Linked DNA regions of Homo sapiens: region 1 is linked to region 2. The links are contacts of gene promoters, found by promoter capture Hi-C in blood cells and fetal thymus (Javierre and others, 2016). All regions are on one chromosome and are shown on one strand. The core of a region is centred on a gene start or on the middle of the fragment in contact, and the rest is flanking DNA. Distances in the headings are between cores, read along the strand shown. Region 1 overlaps USP39 (ubiquitin specific peptidase 39). Region 2 holds the start of IMMT (inner membrane mitochondrial protein).

Region 1 (4,889 bases), core at 1,703-4,202, 560 kb after region 2:
CGAGACCAGCCTGGCCAACAGGGTGAAACCGCATCTCTACTAAAAATACAAACATTAGCTGGGCATGGTGGCATGTACCTGTAGTCCCAGCTACTCGGGAGGCTGAGGCAGAAGAATCGCTTGAACCCGGGAGGTGGAGGTTGCAGTGAGCTGAGATCACACCACTGCACTCCAGCCTAGGCAACAGAGTGAGACTCCATCTCAAAAAAAAAAAAAAAGTATGTCTCCCCACTTTTTGGAGTTTCTCCTCTCCTAAATGACCTTCCTTTCTCTATACTACCCCAGAGGCAGGCAGAAAGCTGAAAACAGGATATATGAGAAGTACAAGAGGGGGCACTGTGGTTGGGCAGTGGTTCACATCTGTAATCCCAACACTTTGGGAGGTCGAGGTGGGAGGATCCCTTGAGGCCAGGAGTTAAAGAATGGCCTGGGCAACAAAGTGAGCACTCTCTCTACAAAAATACTTAGTTGGATGTGGTGGAGTGTGTCTAGTCCCAGCTACTTAGGATGCTGAGGTGAGAGGATCACTTGAGCCCAGGAGTTTGAGGCTGCAGTGAGCCATGATCACGCCACCATGATCACCCAGACTAGGTGATAAAGCTAGACCCTGTCTCAAAAAATAATAAAAAGGGGCACTATAAGTTAAGAGTTGGGGGTGACCAGTGAGAAATACCAACGAGTCTGGGAGGCTCAATAAAGTCAATATAATTTATAATAAATACGTCACATACATGTGGTGATTCTTACATATAAAATGAAAATGGGCCAGGTGTGGTGGCCCACGCCTGTAATCCCAGCACTTTGGGAGGCGAGGCAGGCTGATCACTTGAGGTCAAGAGTTCGAGACCAACCTGGCCAACATGCTGTCTCTACTAAAAATATAAAAAATTAGCCAGTCATGGTGGCGGATGTCTGTAATCCCAGCTACTAGGAAGGCTGAGGCAGGAGAATCGCTTGAAACTGGGAGGTAGAGATTGCAGTCAGCCGAAATCACGCCACTGCACTCCAGCCTGGGCGACAAGAGCAAAACTCTGTCTTGAAAAAAAAAAAAAAAAGAAAATGAAAAAGTCGAGAGAGCGAGGGTAAGTATAGGCAGGGCAGGTGTGTTAATGGGCTACCTTCTCAGTGATGCCATTGAACTTAGCCAGGATGTTGAAGAGTGGCACTTGGGGAATGATGAGCTGCTCCTTCTCGTCCTTGTAGAGGGGGGCAGTAGGAAGGTCCAGCGTCAGGTACATAAAAGTGGACTCCACCATTGTCTCCTGGTACTCGTCATTATGGAGCAACTGCTCTTTTTCTTCTGCTGGCTAGAAATGAATGAGAAGAAAAGAGAGGAAAGGAGTGTGACGGGTATAGGAACCAACACAGAACCGATGTTTTACCACGCCGACATTTCCTTCATCTGAAAGAACAAAGAGAAGTGCCCGAGAGATTGGGCAGTTTGGCATGCACCACCTGGTTAGATTAACTTAAGAACCAACAGGTTTCCTTCTTTAAAGATATTTTGCTTATATACCAGACTATCTAAAAAGCCCTGAGGCCAAGTGTGATGGCTCACGGCTGTAATCTCAACACTTTGGGAACAAAGGTGAGAGGACTGCTTGAGTCCAGGACTTCCAGACCAGCCTGGGCAACACAGTGAGACTCCATCTCTACAAAAAAAAAAAAAAATTGGCCGGGCATGATGGCTCACACCTGTAATCCCAGCACTTTGGGAGGCCGAGGCAGGTAGATCACCTGAGGTCAGGAGTCCAAGACCAACGTGACCAACACGGAGAAACCCCGTCTCTACTAAAAATACAAAATAAGCCGGGCGTGGTGGTGGCGCCTGTAATCCTAGCTACTCGGGAGGCTGAGGCAGGAGAATCACCTGAACTCGGGAGGCGGAGGTTGCGGTGAGCCGAGATAGTGCCATTGCACTCCAGCCTGGGCAACAAGAGTGAAACTCCGTCTCAATAAAATAAATAAATTAATTAATTAATTAAATTAAACAAAAATAAAAATAAAAATTAGCCCGGTGTGGTGGTGTGTATCTATGGTCCCAGTTTCTGGGGAGGTTGAGGTGGGAGGATCACTTCAGCAAGGGAGGTTGAGGTTGCAGTGAACCATAATCACGCCACCACACTCAGCCTGAGTGACAGAGATCTTGTCTCAAAAAGGAAAAAAAATCCATTAAAAAAAGAAAGTGGGCCGAGCACGGTGGCTCATGTCTGTAATCCCAGCACTTTGGGAGGCCAAGGGAGGTGGATCACCTAAGGTCAGGAGTTTGAGACCATCCTGACCAACATGGTAAAACCTCTTCTCTACTAAAAATAGAAAAATTAGCCAGGCATAGTGGCGCATGCCTGTAATCCCAGCTACTTCGGAGGCTGAGGCAGGAGAATGGTTTGAACCTGGGAGGTGGAGGTTGCAGTGAGCTGAGATCATGCCATTGCACTCCAGACTGGTCAACAAGAGCAAAACTCCATCTCAAAAAAGAAAAGCTCTAAGACCATCTAGGAAGCTTAGCTGAGGGCCAGGCACGGTGACTCACGCCTGTAATCCCAGCACTTTGGGAGGCCGAGGCAGGTAGATCACCTGAGGTCAGGAGTTCGAGACCAGCCTGGACCAACATGGTGAAGCCCCGTCACAACTAAAAATACAAAATTAGCTGGGCGTGGTGGCAAGCGCCTGTAATCACAGCCACTCAGGAGGCTAAGGCAGGAGAATCGCTTGAACCCAGGAGGTAGAGGTTGCAGTGAGCTGAGATGGCGCCACTGCAACTCCAGCCTTGGCGACAGAGGGAGACTAAGAAAAACAAAAAGAAAGCTTAGCTGAGCTTTCTGAAAAAACACAGCAGCACCACCTAGTGGCCAGAACACTTAAACCAGCACAGTACATCCAACCACTAACTCCCAAACTGAAAAAGTGCACTAGTATGACAGGGACCAGGCAGAGCTGCCACTAGGCAGGTGCTTTGTTGAACCTCTTCACAGGGCAAGCAGGCTTGTCAGTTCTCTGAGCATCTCTTCATCTCCCCTACGTCCCCTCAAGCAATATGAATCAGTCCAAGACCCAGGCTCAATTAACTCACCAGATCAGGATGGGGAAGCTTTTTAGTGAAGATCCTCATGGACCCCTGGAAAACATCAGTCACAATAGCTGCACAAACAGGAAGCAAGAGACAAATTCCGTGAGGATGGAAAACATGTCTGAAGTATATTTCCAGCTTCTAAATTTCTGAAATAAACCAGCATCTTCCAGCAAAAGACACAGAGCTCTCACTAAACACAGAAGTTTCCTTTTGTACTATATACCACCAGGGTACCTTTATAATTATTTGTGTAAATAATTACTTTATTTCTCTTAAGACAACTTTTTATCCTCCATCACAGGGCCTGGTCCATAAAAGAAAAGGTAAATGTGTTCAAAATGAAGGAATGGTGATACATGAATTACAAAAAAATTCACAAGCAAAACAAGGTACAGCCAAGGAACTTCCCATAACCATAAGCTACTTTCAAAGGGAGACAATGTCCAAACTGTAATGAAGACAAGAGGACAATGACAGACTAAGAGATGGGCCAGAACAGGATCAAAGCAACAAGAGAGAAAGCACAACCAAGTTCTAGAACCCTGCCAAGACGCAAGTTAGAGAGCTCAGAGGGTTAACACAGGCTGAAGACACCTGGTAGAGAGGGCAGGGCCATCCAGTGGGAAAAGCAACAGGCCACAATCCCACATCAAGACACCATCACATCTATAATCCTAGCACTTTGGGCAGATCACCTGAGGTCAGGAGTTTGAGACCAGCCTGGCCAACATGGAGAAATCCCATCTCTACTAAAAATACAAAAATCAGCTGGGCGTGGTAGTGGGTGCCTGTAATCCCAGCTACCCTTGGGAGACTGAGGGAGAAGAACTGCTTGAACCTGGGAGATGGAGGCTACAGTGAGCTGAGACCGTGCCACTGCATAGCCTAGGTGACAGAGCAAGACTCTGTCTCAAAATATATATATAATAAAATATCATTGGGACTATAACCATATTCTAGCAAAAACTATGGAGAGGGGCCTATTCAGAAAGAACATGTAGTTTATCTATAACATAGATACTAGCCTACCCCAGATAAACAGTTAACAAAAGAATGGGAAGTTGCCTCAGCCTCCCAAGTCGCTGGGACTACAGGCACATCCCACCACACCTGAATAACTTTTGTATTTTTGGTAGAGATGGGGTTTCGCCATGTTGGCCAGGCCGGTCTCAAACTCCTGACCTCAGGTAATCCACCCACCTCGGCCTCTCAAAGAGCTGGGATTATAGGCATGAGCCATTGCGACCGACCGCAAAGTTTTTTAAAAGGGAACAAAATAACTCCTTTTTATAAGTAAATGACTTACTCTTCTTTTTCTTCTTTGTGCCCCCCAGAGCTGAGTGCAGAGCATTCAGAAACCAAGACAGAAAGTCAACGCCATCTCCTGGAAAAAAAGGAAGGGTGGAAAACGTTGAAGCTAAGTGGCATTAGAGTTAACTTAAACCATGCACTGGTTGGCATTCCTGGTTCTCCCCCTTCCTCTCTGGCCATGCCATCCCATCCCAACTGCCGTGCATCCTCCTCTATCTTATCATTAAATGCTGGCACTCCTCAAGGTCAAGCTCTCACTCCTCCGATCTTGACTCTCTCCATAGGCTCTCTGATTCATACCAGGACTGTATCGCATCACTCAGTGATGACCAAAACAAATGAATATGACCTTTTAACATCCACTTTTCTCCAGAGTGAGCTCAAACTTCCTTCTTCCCTTCTGCAGCTCATGAAGATTCCTGTCTTTTAGGAAAGTGACTAGCACCCAGACTGAAAAGGCATACAGAACAAGGGGTTCTGAAAGCAGATTGACAATATTCCATGA
Region 2 (4,652 bases), core at 131-2,630:
TCCATGCTACAAGTCATAGCGCAGTCTACCTCTAGAGAGAATACATATTGTAATAAATTACCCAGTTAAGACTTGGAATACTTTGCAAATCCAATAGAAGATAGAAAAGTTAGTTTCCACGATATTGCAATAAGATGCTAATAGTATTAATACGAACATATTAATTCTGGAGTATACATGGAGTATTAATACCATGCTTAATATTTAACGTGTTTTATTTTGATTACAGAATCAATGGAATACTTTTGTTTTTTGAGACAGAGTTTCGCTCTTGTTGCCCAGGCTGGAGTGCAATGGCGTGATCTCGGCTCACTGCAACCTCCGCCTCCCGGGCTCAAGCAATTCTCCTGCCTCAGCCTCCCGAGTAGCTGGGATTACAGGCACCCGCCACCATGCCCAGCTAATTTTTTGTATTTTTAGTAAAGACGGGGTTTCACTATTTTGGCCAGGCTGGTCTCGAATTCCTGACCTCAGGCGATCCACCCGCCTTGGCCTCCCAAAGTGCTGGGATTACAGGCGTGAGTCATAGCTCCTGGCCCTACTTTTCTTTTTAAATTTTTTGTTTGTTTATTTTTCTATATAGAGACGAGGTCTCACTGTGTTGCCCAGCCTGGTATCGAACCTCTGGGCTCAAGCGATCCTCCCGCTTCGGCCTCCCGAAGTACTGGGATTACAAGCGTGAGCCACCGCGCCCTGCCCAGTGGAATACTTTCAACGGTGCTTCTGCATTGACTTCCCATCTTCCAACCCATCCACAAACTGCAGCCAAAATGATGTTACTACAGTAACAACTTGGAGAAAGCAGTGTGGCTTAATCTGGAAGGAGCAGAAGCTGTGGAGTCCAAAGGACCCGTGTTCCTATCCTTGTTGTGCCACTTGACACGTTTAGCACAAGGGTCCCCACAGTGTTAGTTCACCGTCTCCAGCAATCACTATGACTCCCTGGAGGGCTGTCAAACGAAACAAAGGCGCAAACTGAGACAATTCCATTGTTTACGTAACTTTCGCCAAATCGGCTCCTTCCTACGAAATATCCAGCTCATAGAGCAGGCTGAGATGCTTTGTTGCTTTAATTCTCTTTAAGAGTCACAGCTGTCCATTTTCCACGTGCGGCTGAAGAATGGATTTCAGAGCGCTCTCCCTCCGGCAGTGTTCACCTAGTAACCCCTTCCGGATAAGGACCTGCAGCCCGGGCGCGACCCGGAAAGGGAATCCGCCCTTTTCGCCTCCTTCGCGCCAATCGCCTGGAGTTGGCGTTTCCGCAGCCGGGACACAGCCCACCCTCTAAGAGCCGCGGAGTCGGGGACGGTAGAAGGGGCCGCGCGTGCGCAGTGGCGTCCGCTGTGCTTCCGGTGCGCCGGGCGCGGACGCGGGCACGCACACACGCAAGCACGCCTCCACTTAACTCGCGCCGCCGCGGCAGCTCGAGTCCACCAGCAGCGCCGTCCGCTTGACCGAGATGCTGCGGGCCTGTCAGTTATCGGGTGTGACCGCCGCCGCCCAGGTGAGCACTGGGGCTCCCGGAGGCGCGTGAGGAGGCTGAACTAGAACCGTCAGCGAAAAACGGGGGAGCCTTGGTCGCTGCCTAGCCTCCAGGACAAAGGCGAGCCTCAGGGCCACCCTCGTCGGGAGAGGCCCGGGCGGGCAGCTAGGCAGCCACCAGGGAGTTCGCCGGACTGGGATGACTTGAGGTTATTGCAGCAGCGGGGTGGGGTGTGGAGAGTAGCGGGAGGCGCGGCTTCGTGGGCATGTAGTCCAATCAGGGCCGCGCTGCCCCCGTCCAGGACCAATCCTGGCTGCTGGCGTCTGGGTCGCCGGTTGGGCGCGCGATAGGTTTTCAGTGCTGAAGGTCGACGGGCGAGAACTACAGTTCCCGTCAGGACGAGCGGAGCGGCGGCTTGTTGCATCCTTAATAAGGAGGTGCCTGGACTTCTAGCGAGAGTCCACATTTTAGGGGTCAAGGTTGTAATTATCTGGGAGGGAGTGCCTTTCTTTTCGCAGCTGAGAACACTTCTGAGTTATTCTTAATCCAAACAAAAGCGAAAGATTTTCATTTGTGGAGCTGAAACTCCTGGTCTTCAAGGAAAGACAGGAGTCATGACCTTGTGGCTCATTTCTGAGATTAGGGCAGGGATCTGTGTCTCCAGGCGCTGGGACTACTTTGACATTCAAGGAGCCTAAATACCCAGTTACTTCTAGTTTTGCGTAATTGCCAAAGTTACTTTCTAAAATTGAAAATTAAAAAGCCTGTTTCCACTGCTCATGATTTTCAGGAAGTTGATATTTTGGCAAAATGTAGATAGCAAACCAAGTACTGTGACTCAAGCAGTAATTGAACAGAATCCCTAGGAATAGTGAGTTAGAGATCATAAAAGTCAAGCTTTGTTTTTTCAAGTTCGCTTCTCTTCCTATTTGCTGCTAGGTAACAGAAGCAGCCCCTTCCATAGGAAAGTGGAACGAACCTGTGTTAGTTTTCTATTGCTGCGTAACAAATACCACAAATTTAGCAGCTTAAAACAACACCCATGAATGACCTTACGGGTTCTGTAGGATAGAAGTCTGGGCACGGATGATCTGTGTTCTCCGCTCCAGGTCACATAAGGCTGCAAAGTATTAGCCATGCTGTGGTTCTCATTTGGAGATCAGGGTCCTCTTCCAGGCTCATGCAGTTTGTTGGCAGAATTCAGTCCCTTGCAGTTACAGGACTGAAGTACTTCTTTTCTTGCTGCCTCTTGCCAGCCACTGCTCCCAGCTTCTACAGCCTGCCTACAGTTCCTTGCCTCAAGGCCTCTAGAGGCCATTCATAACATTGATGTTTGCTTTCGTGCAGGCTACCAGGAGCTTGCCTCTCTGACTTCCAAATTTCTTTTACTTTGGTCTTTCCTCTCTAGACCCAGATTTAAAAGGCTTATGTGATTAGACCAGGCCCACCTGGATGACCTCCTTTTCAGTTAATTCAGAGTCAACTTTTTGGGATCCCATTTGGGAATTAAGAAAACTAATTAAAACTTGGTAATAAAAAATGAACCCTTTTATAGCTCTGAATCAAGATGTCTAAGCTTCTTGAAATTGCTGTCTTGTAAAATTCTTTGGTTTATTCTCACCATCTCCTTAATTCTGTAGCATTTGACATTGCTGCTTTATGAGGCTCTTTGTACTTTTGGCTTCTCTCAAGTAATATTTTGGGTCCCATCTCTCTTGTTTTCCTTTACTGAGTCTGCTTCTGCTTTGTACCTCGAAATATACACCTTCTCATCTCTTCCTGTCTCTTTATAGACTCTCTAATTTGAGATTACATCAACTCTCAGAACTTTAATCCCCAAGCAGGTGACTCTCTAGCCTCGTCGTATTTGATTGTATCAACGTATCCAGAATATCTCACTTGTCAAGATCCTTTCCACTTTATTAAACCCCATCTTTCTTTTTTTTTTTTTGGATACGGAGTCTCACTTTGTCACCCAGGCTGGAGTGCAGTGGCACAGTCATGGCTCACTGCAGCCTTGACCTCCTGAGCGCAAGCAATCCTCTTACCTCAGCCTCCTGAGTAGCTGGGACCACAGGCATGTGCCACCATCCCTGGCTAATTTTTTAAAAAATTTTTGTAGAGACGGAGTCTCTCTGTGTTGGCCAGGCTGGTCTCGAACTCCTGGGCTCAAATGATCCTCCCACTTCTGCCTCCCAAAATGCTGGGAATATAGGCACGAGCCACCGTGCCCAGCCAACCCCATCTTCTTAAATGTCTTACTGCTTTTACTGTTCCCTCCTAGAGTCCATTCTTTACTCTAGGAGGGAATAGTAAAAGCAGTAAGACATTTAGTAAAAGGCTTTTTAAAAGGCAAACATGAGGTCATGCTCTTTGGAGACATCGCATCACATTCAAAATAAAATCTAAACTGCTTACCATGGGCCCTTGATCTGACTCTTCTCATATTTCATTTTTCTACTGCCTCACTCAGATTCTCCTGGTAATCTCCAGCATGTGCCTCACTGCCTTTTCATCAGGTGTTTCTTTTGCCCTGAACTCTTCTCACAGGTTTGCTTAACTTATTCCCTTCAGTTAATTTCTCAAATGTCACCTTCCCTTCAGAGAGGGCATCCTGATCCAAAATAGAATTCTGACTACTCTTGCCTTCCTTGTATCACTATATCTTTACCCCATCCTACTTTGTTATACTTTGTAGCTCCTAGCACTACCTGATGTTATAATGTGTATTTATTACACAGTTTCCACCTTTAAAAAGTAAGCTCCACAATGGAACTGTGTCCATATTTACTGCTGTATTTCCAGTATTAACAATAGTCCCTGGCTCCAAGTAGATGCTCAGTGAATGTTTATGACATATATAAATGAAAGAATGAATGTGTTCATGAATTTTTTTTTAATTTAAAAAGATTTTTTAGAGATGGGGTCTCATTATGTTTCCCAGGCTGGTCTTCAGCTTCTGGGCTCAAGTGATATGCCCACCTCGGCCTCCCAAAGTGGAATTTTTCTTAATCTGTGTAAGTGGATGTGACCTCCCTTTAAACATCCCATAGATTTTCAAACCTCTGATTATATATTCAGATTCTCCAGAGAAACAGAAACAATAAGGGTGTGTGTGTGTGTGTAGAGATAGGGTCTCATTCTGTTGCCCAGGCTGGAGTACAGCAGT

Evidence for each region. The method cuts DNA at HindIII sites, captures the fragments that hold promoters and counts their contacts. A CHiCAGO score of 5 or more calls a contact.
Region 1: a contact is called between a fragment that was not itself captured here and the fragment with the promoter of IMMT in region 2, in 5 of 17 cell types (fetal thymus, total B cells, total CD8 T cells and 2 more). The highest score is 8.9, in fetal thymus.

Annotation. Positions count from the first base shown.
Region 1 is chr2:85,635,621-85,640,509 of GRCh38, reverse strand. USP39 (ubiquitin specific peptidase 39) reads right to left here. Exons shown (of 13, transcript NM_006590.4): 7 at 4,380-4,457; 8 at 3,074-3,141; 9 at 1,119-1,307. Among named protein-coding and RNA genes, the nearest start is that of USP39, 22 kb to the right of the region's middle. The HindIII fragment of the contact is 283 bases long and covers 2,811-3,093 here.
Region 2 is chr2:86,192,190-86,196,841 of GRCh38, reverse strand. It overlaps IMMT (inner membrane mitochondrial protein), which reads left to right and starts at 1,380. Exons shown (of 15, transcript NM_006839.3): 1 at 1,380-1,504. The coding sequence starts at 1,460. MIR4779 (microRNA 4779) reads left to right here and starts at 3,734; the gene lies at 3,734-3,816. RefSeq lists enhancers at 1,390-1,509, 1,530-1,709, 1,830-1,879. The HindIII fragment of the contact is 5,542 bases long and covers 1-2,382 here.